2 separate regions of the Homo sapiens genome follow, and region 1 is linked to region 2. Evidence: promoter capture Hi-C in 16 types of primary human blood cells and fetal thymus (Javierre and others, 2016). All regions are on one chromosome and are shown on one strand. Each heading gives the region's core, a stretch centred on a gene start or on the middle of the fragment in contact. The rest is flanking DNA. Distances are from core to core; before and after follow the strand shown. Region 1 holds the start of SLC7A1 (solute carrier family 7 member 1). Region 2 holds the start of ALOX5AP (arachidonate 5-lipoxygenase activating protein).

What was found. The method cuts DNA at HindIII sites, captures the fragments that hold promoters and counts their contacts. A CHiCAGO score of 5 or more calls a contact.
Region 1: a contact is called between the fragment with the promoter of SLC7A1 here and the fragment with the promoter of ALOX5AP in region 2, in 1 of 17 cell types (non-activated CD4 T cells). The highest score is 5.9, in non-activated CD4 T cells.

The regions. Positions count from the first base shown.
Region 1 is chr13:29,593,508-29,597,668 of GRCh38, forward strand. SLC7A1 (solute carrier family 7 member 1) reads right to left here and starts at 2,181. Exons shown (of 13, transcript NM_003045.5): 1 at 1,909-2,181. RefSeq lists silencers at 845-1,139, 1,308-2,547 and an enhancer at 1,068-1,197. The HindIII fragment of the contact is 14,376 bases long and covers 1-2,916 here.
Region 2 is chr13:30,733,586-30,737,287 of GRCh38, forward strand. It overlaps ALOX5AP (arachidonate 5-lipoxygenase activating protein), which reads left to right and starts at 1,958. Exons shown (of 5, transcript NM_001629.4): 1 at 1,958-2,090. The coding sequence starts at 2,021. The region is part of intron 2 of LOC124903146 (a long non-coding RNA gene); the gene reads right to left. The HindIII fragment of the contact is 8,013 bases long and covers 1-3,679 here.

The DNA.
Region 1 (4,161 bases), core at 931-3,430, 1.1 Mb before region 2:
TCACATTTCAAATTTGTCCCTAGGATTAATAGCAATCCCTCCAAATACATGGTTGATAATGAGAAAGGATTAATTTAATTGGACATAATTCTGAGCCCTCCAACATAATTATCTATTTGTATGGACTTTGGTTAAAATAAACTACAGACCAGAATAATCAATCAACACGTATTTAATTCCATCAAAGAATGAGTTCTTCTACCAAATAGAAAATTGTAACTCCCTGAAGTCAACAGTCTTGTCTTTCAAGCCTTTCTTTTTTTTTTTCACCTAAAGCAAGTAATCATATGTACAGGAGCACGTGGCTCTAGGATCCAGACCCAGACAAGGGAGTACATTTCTGATCTACTTACTAAGCCCTTTCCTCTTTACTCAAAACTCCTTTGACATCCTTTGAATTTTACCTTTATAATAATTAAACATGATCGTAATATGCTAAACCTATTTTTAAAACCATTTTAATCTATTGTTGACCTTTCCCCTAAGTTTCTATTCTGTTCGTGTGACTTAAATAAGACCTTTTGTTTTAATAACAGGAGGGTGTGTTCATATAAAAATCATGGTAATTTCCACTGAGATCAACTAAAAATACCAGAGGAATAAATGTATCATGGTTTCCTATTATCTGAACCAAACATAAAGGGCAAGAAATGTTAGGAAAAATCCCAGATAAATTATAATTCGAATTAAATACAATTAGGGCATTCGGCCAGAGGCCGACATACACAATTCTACTAGTCGAATGTAAGTAAGATAAAAGGCACATTCTTTAGGGAGATACACCTGGGATTGAAATCTCAACCATCTGGTAACTATGTCTGGACTAAAACCCAACACATGAGGGCATGGCGGTGATGACGTGAGTATTGGGAAATGTAGGTTATTTATTTATTTTTTTCCTGAAGGCACATGTCTGACTATCCTAGTCACACAAGTCAAACACAACTGCTGTCTGGTTCCCCCATCCCCTGGAAAGGGTCAGGAGCTGAACCAGCAGGCTGTTGTAGTACTACAGTGCAGCTGCCGCTCTGTGTACGCGCAGGTTTTAGAATGACTCTGACCTGCCCATGCCTGGGAAGTTTTCTACTACGCAGAAAGGAACACCCTGAGAATACGGTGTCTTGCTAAAGGCGGAAGAACTTCCTCTCATTCCAAACCATGTGGAGGGCTTGAGGAACCCGGCCTTTCCAGGCCACACTGGGTCACAAGGAAGCCCACCTAGGGGAGACTTCCTCAAAGCAATCTTGGGGACCCAGACGAGAGGTGCAGGCGGCGCGTCCCGGGTTCTAGGGACAAGCGGAGAGCCAGGCGCCCTAGGTCAGGGCGGCCACCGGGCGGGGATGGCAGCAGAGTCCCTGGGCCGGCCACCTGCCGCGGGACCACCCTCCGGGCGGCCGGGCAGAGTCCCCACCCACGGCTGATGACACATCCCCGGACCTCGTGGCGGGGCGGGGTGCTCTGCACCGCGCCATGTAAGGGAAGGTCTCCTCGCCGCCGGCGGGCTCCGTGTGCCTCCCAGTCTGGCCCCCGTGCCCGCCGCCCGCCTACGCACCCCGACCACCCCGTGCGTAGCGGCGCGCGGGTCCCCGGACAGGCGCGCGGAGCGGGCATCGCCAGATCGCCCACGCTTACTCACTCGGTGTTGCATCATGCACCACGCCGCGGTTTCAGGGAGCCAAAATGGACTCCGTGGAGGCGACAGTCGCATGGGCACCAGCCCCGCTCGCCCACTCCGGGGCCCGCCCGGCCCTGGTCCTGGCCCTTCCCAGAGGATGGCAGCGTTCCCGGCGCGGGGGCCCTCGCCACTCCCGCGCCGCCCTGCCGCGGCCCCACGCGGCGCCAGGGCCCCCTCCGTGATGACCCGGGCCCAAGGAGCTGCCCCCTGCGTTGGCGGGGCCGGGCACTCACCAAGCCGGCGGCGGCGGGGCTCCGGCAGGATCGCGAACAGACAGACTGTCGGACGCGCTCAAGGACCAACGGACGCTCGGCCGGCGAGACCGGGCGGGGCGGGGCGGGGCGGGGGCGCGGCGCGCGGGGAGAGGAGTGGAGGCTGCGGTTAGCGGGAGCCCGCGGCCGCGTGCGCGCCTGCCAGGTAGTTGACCCGCTGCTCACACCTGCCTGCGCGGACTGAATGGGCGCCGAGGGCTGGCGGGTTCCGGCGCCAGGTTTCATCAGCAGTGCGCCCGGCCCCCGCCCCTCGCGCTCCGCGCCCCGCGCCCCACGCCCGCCCCCGGACCAGGCAGCCCCGGCCCGCTCGGCCGCGTCACCGCCGGGCACCAATGGGAGCGCGGCGCGGCGGCGGCTGCCAGCCCAGAGGCTGCGGCCGGGGACCGACGCGCCCTTGGTGGGCGGGGCGGCTGAGTCTTCGCGCGCCCAGCGCCCCAACCTGGGGTTCCCGCGGCGGGCGGGCGGGCTGCGCCTCCGCTCGCCTTCTCAGTAGCTCCGTAGGCGTGTGGCCGTTTCTCCGCCAATCTGAGCGCACCGCGCCACAGCATCCTGTGGTCCCCTGCAGATCCCACAGCGCCCTGGCCAGAACTAGTGCTGCAGGTCCGGCCGTGCCAACCCCCTCCCGGCGGGCCCCAGGGAGCTCACACGGAACTCGAGACCAGTTTTCCTTCTCCAAAATAAAAGATTTGGTATGCACTTAAAAGGTTTAAACTGTTTTCTTTTCATTTTAGAGACAGGGTGTTACTCTATTGCCCAGGCTGGAGCGCAGTTCACCTTAACCTCGAAATCCTGGCCTCAAGCGATCCTCCCGCCTGGGCCTCCCAAAGCGCCCTAGGATTACAGTCCTGAAACACTGCACCGGCCTAAAAATTATTATAAATCTTCATGTCTTTGTTATTGGATTATTTTATTACTATTCCTTTGCCCTTGCTAATACCTTATCCTTGCCAGTTGTCAGAAGAGCCCCAAAGCTTGAATCTACCTGTGCCCCCTTGGCAGTGGCAAATGCACAAACGGCTAGTCAGAACGGCTCACTTTTGCAGTTACCCCCCAGGAAGTGGCAGAAGCTTCAGTCCTGAATCACACCGTGCTCACCTTTTAAGCTCCCTCCTTGTCTCCTTTTGTACCAAAAGCCAAGCGAGAATCATAATCTTTAAAGATCCAGTGATCTGGGACTTGGGATAGGTAAACAGGGCATAAATTAATAATGCCATCCTTCTTCTATCTTATAGGAAAACAGAAAAACAGTGGACGGTGTCCGTGGTCTTTGAATCCTTTCTACAGGTCCTTCTCAAATATCAGCTGCTGAACTATTCCCTTGGAATTAGACTAGCAATTTATAAAGTACATAACTGCATGGTGCTAGCTTCAGAAAAAGTGTTCTGTTGTTGTTGCTGTTGTCATTTGTTTGTTTTTTAGAGACAGGGGTCTCACTCTGTCACCCAGGCTGGAATGCAGCGGTACAATCATAGCTCACTGGAACTTCAAATTCCCAGGCTCAAGCCATCCTCCTGCCTCAGCCTCCCAAGCAGATGGAACTACAGGCTTGTGTCATCACGCCTAGTTAATATTTTTTCTACATATAGACACGGGTTTTTGATATGTTGCATAGGCTGGCCTCAAATACCAGCTGTCTAGCGATCATTTTGCCTCAACCTCCCCTAGCATCGGGACTACAGGGATGAGCCAGAAAAAGTCCCCAGAAAAAGTTTTAATGAACACATGCAGATGGCTTAGCAGTTGTAAAATGTGTTTTTGTCTTTGTTTTAGAGAGTGGGTCTCACTCTGTCACCAAGTTGGAGTGCAGTGGCAACATCATAGCTCACTGCAGCCTTGAACTCCTAGGCTCAAGCGATCGCCTCACTTTAGCTTCCCCAGTAGCTGGAAATATAGGCGAGCACCATCCTGCCCAGCTTTGTAATGTGCTTTGAACAGTGCTTGACATCATAGTAAGCCACCATATATGCTTTGTTTTAAAGCAACAAATCTGGCCTGTCACGGTGGCTCACGCCTGTAATCCAGCACTTTGGGAGGGCAAGGCAGGCAGATCATGAGGTCAGCAGATTGACACCATCCTGGCCAACATGGTGAAACCCCGTCTCTACTGAAAATACAAAAATGATCTGGGCGTGGTAGCGCACGCCTGTAGTCCCAACTACTCGGGAGGCTGAGGCAGGAGAATCACTTGAACCCAGGAGGCGGCGGTTGCAGTGA
Region 2 (3,702 bases), core at 708-3,207:
TTGAGCTAAAAAATGCCCAGGTAGCTGGTAAAATGTTTTTTTCTGGGTGTGTTAGGGAGGGTGTTTCTGAAAGAGATCAGCACTGGAATCAGCGGACTAAGTAAAGAATTCCCACCCTCACCAATATGGTGGGTGTCATCAATCCACTGAGGGCCTGAATAGAACAAAAAGCGGGCAGAAGGGCAAATTCCCTCTTCTTCTTGAGCTGGGCCATCCATCTTCTCCTGCCCTTGGACACTGGAGCCCCTTGTTCTCCAGCTTTTGGATTCAGACTGGGTCTTGCACCATTGCCCTCCATCTTCTCCTGCCCTTGGACACTGGAGCCCCTTGTTCTCCAGCTTTTGGATTCAGACTGGGTCTTGCACCATTGCCCTCCTTGATGCTCAGGCCTTTGAATGCAGACTGGTCTCCACCAGCAGCTTTTCTGAGTCTCCAGCTTGCAGATGGCAAACCATGAAACTTCATGGTGTCCATGAGCATGTGAACCAATTTCTATTATAAATCTGCAATATATATATATGAGGAGACTTATTTATATATTGGTTCAGTTTCTCTGGAGAGCCTTGGCTAATATAAAGTCTATACTCTACAAAGTGCCCTAGGTACTCAGGGAGTACCCAAGTGTGTCATGACCAGCCCGACAGCCCTGGCTGCTGGCTTCCCCGCACACAACTCTGCACGCTGCCTTCATCAGCCTTTCTCTCTCAGCTGAACCGAGGGCATTGAAGCGGGCCTCTGGCACTGTACCTATGAGGGAGCAATATCTTCCCCTACACTGACCTCTTCCGTGCCGAGATGCAGCCCTCCCTGCTGCCACTAGTTACAGTGGTCCATGTTCCCTTTCAAAGTGAAGTTTTGATAAAAGCACCTCTTAACCAATGCCAAATAGCTAAGTCTGGGACAAAGATTGCAGGTATTTTGCATTTTCCATGTAACCTCAGAGGGATTGCCATTCACACTGATCTGAGCTGCAGAATACCAGGCAGCCACCTCACCCACCCAGCAGGTCCACTCTTATACTTTCTCAGAAAGCACAGCCACTCTACTCTTATTCAGTTGAAAAGAATTTCCAGGAAGGTGTTTCTGCGATTGCCTCAGAAAAGTCAGTTCCCTTTGGGAATTTCCCTTAGGGATCATCTGTAACTCCATTTCTGCCTTTTACCTGAATTCTTTGGTTTGGTTTGAATTCTTTGGTTTAATTTATGAATTCCCTTTATTACTTTTCTCTGAAGAAATGGAGATATCAGCTGTCCCTCCCCACTGCCATTTATTCCTTCCTTCATTCAAACCTTATGTGGCTGCTACTTACCGTGTGTTAAGTGTTCACTTTTTTTCTTGGAATTCAAAAAAAGAAGGACAGTATTTGGGGCACAGATCTTTTGGTGTTCTATACATTTTTTTAAAGTTTCATTTTACATTTGTGTGTGCGTGTGTGTGTGTGTGTGAGACAGTCTTGCTCTGTTGCCCAGGCTGGAGTGCAGTGGCATAATCATTGGCTCACTGTAGCCTCAAAGTCCTGGGCCCAAGCAATCTTCCCACCTCAGCCACCCAAAATGCTGGGGTTACAGGTTTATGCCACTCTGTCTGACCTGAAAGTTTTGGGTTTACTTTCCCTTCTTTCTCTTTGCTGAAGTCAGAGATGATGGCAGCTTCCAGATTCTCTGGTGCCTGTGCTGGGCTCGTGCTGGTCATGGTCTTGGGTCCAGGATTCATTCTGGAGACTCTCAGGGAAGTTTCCCATGACAAGGAAATGTAGGAGAGTGTGCTGGCTTTGCGTGCTCCTCTGCCAAGCCCTGCTTCTCCTGGTGGGACACACTGAACCACAGCCAGGGCATTTTGGTGGTTAGTTAAAAAAAAAAAAAAAAAAAAAAAAAGGAAGAAGAAGGCACTGTGTAATTGTGCCGGGGATCTTCAGAAATTGTAATGATGAAAGAGTGCAAGCTCTCACTTCCCCTTCCTGTACAGGGCAGGTTGTGCAGCTGGAGGCAGAGCAGTCCTCTCTGGGGAGCCTGAAGCAAACATGGATCAAGAAACTGTAGGCAATGTTGTCCTGTTGGCCATCGTCACCCTCATCAGCGTGGTCCAGAATGGTAAGGAAAGCCCTTCACTCAGGGAAGAACAGAAGGGGAGATTTTCTTTGATGGTTGTTTGGAAGTCAGGCTTAAACAATTGTGTCTGTGTGTGCGCATGCACAAACACTTTTACCTTATCTTTATTTTCTTCTTTTTATTTGAATGTATAGGGTTGTGTGTATTTCTGTGTAAATTTGGGGTTTTCCTCCTCTTAGTCTTTCACTTTTGTGGTGATTACCAGTCCCATTTTTAGAGCCAGGGCTGCAACTTGAAGGTTTTGCTAAAACCCTCACCGAAGTGTCTATGATCAGCATTTTAACTATTAATTAATGTGGCCAGGCAAGGGGTGGAAGGTGAGAAGACTAGAAAGGGAACATGATATACACATTTACTCAGATACTGGGCTTTTCTAACATCTGCAGTGCAATTGAAGTTACCAGTCATCTGCAGTCTAAAAAGAAAGTGATTTTGGGAGGTGCGTAGAAAAAATCATCTTATTATTTTTCCTCTATATTACTTTTTTCTTTTTTTCTCCTGAAGAAACTTTTTTTTTTGGTGATACCTTCTTTTTCTCTAGCACGTATAATTTTGGAAGCATTTTTCATATGCAGTGTATACTTCAGAAAGAGAGAGAGAGAGAGGAAAATTGTCCTGTTCAGCGTTTGCATTTCCATTATTCCTGCTATTAGTTAAAAACAACAACAACAACAAAAAACAAGCAGGATACCTAGATCTGGAAAAGGGAGAATTGTGTAGAGCTGTCTTCCTAAAGTTCTGAGTTAGGGCTGCCTCAGACCACTTTCATAACTATCTCCAGTGGCTTTGTGTTTTATATTTATTAAGATAGAGAAAAAAAGAGTAATTACTAAGGGCAGCTGCTGTAGCTTTATGGTGATTACTGAACATTGACATGCTGTCACGTTTTTGGAACTTTGAGTATTTAATCACTTTGGGATATTCTATTTTCCCCCATCTTGAGTGTGGACAGATGCTGGTGATGTAGCCTTCTGGGCACAGAGCAAGCCTCCCCCTCAGCCTCTGCACCAGAAAGGCTCAGCTTCACACACTCCAAGTATGTTTTCTACAAGAACTACACTTTGTGGCTTTCTGACCCAAACATTTTTATACTAAATTACACACAACAAAGTTGTAGCTCAGAGAGGGAACAAATGGCTTATTTAGGCCACCATTTTCTTGAGCCATTATGATTTCACACAGGGCTCCCTTGGCCCTGTAAATTGGCAAGGATTCCATTATTCAACCCGCATACATGTACAGAGACCCTGCTCTGGCCCAGATAGTATTCTGGGTACAGGCGGATAGAGCAGGAAACAAAACAGCTACAGTGATGGACAGGTCAGCCTGCAGCAATGCCTGCAGTCTCTGCAAAGGTAGCTGTATGGGTGGGCAGGTGGCTAGCACTTATTCAGCTCTGGAAGGATCTCCCCTCTGGCCTCTCCCCTGACACCCATCAATAAAACTGAGGAGCATCGGTGGACAGGGGACCTTGTGCCCCCTCCCTGCCTGTGCAGTTGGGGCTGAACCCAGCTACGAAGTTTGAGCTCACTCTCTCCAGCTCCCTCTCAATTCAGAGCTGAACTGTGGGAAGCTTCAGAGCTCTCTGTTTCAA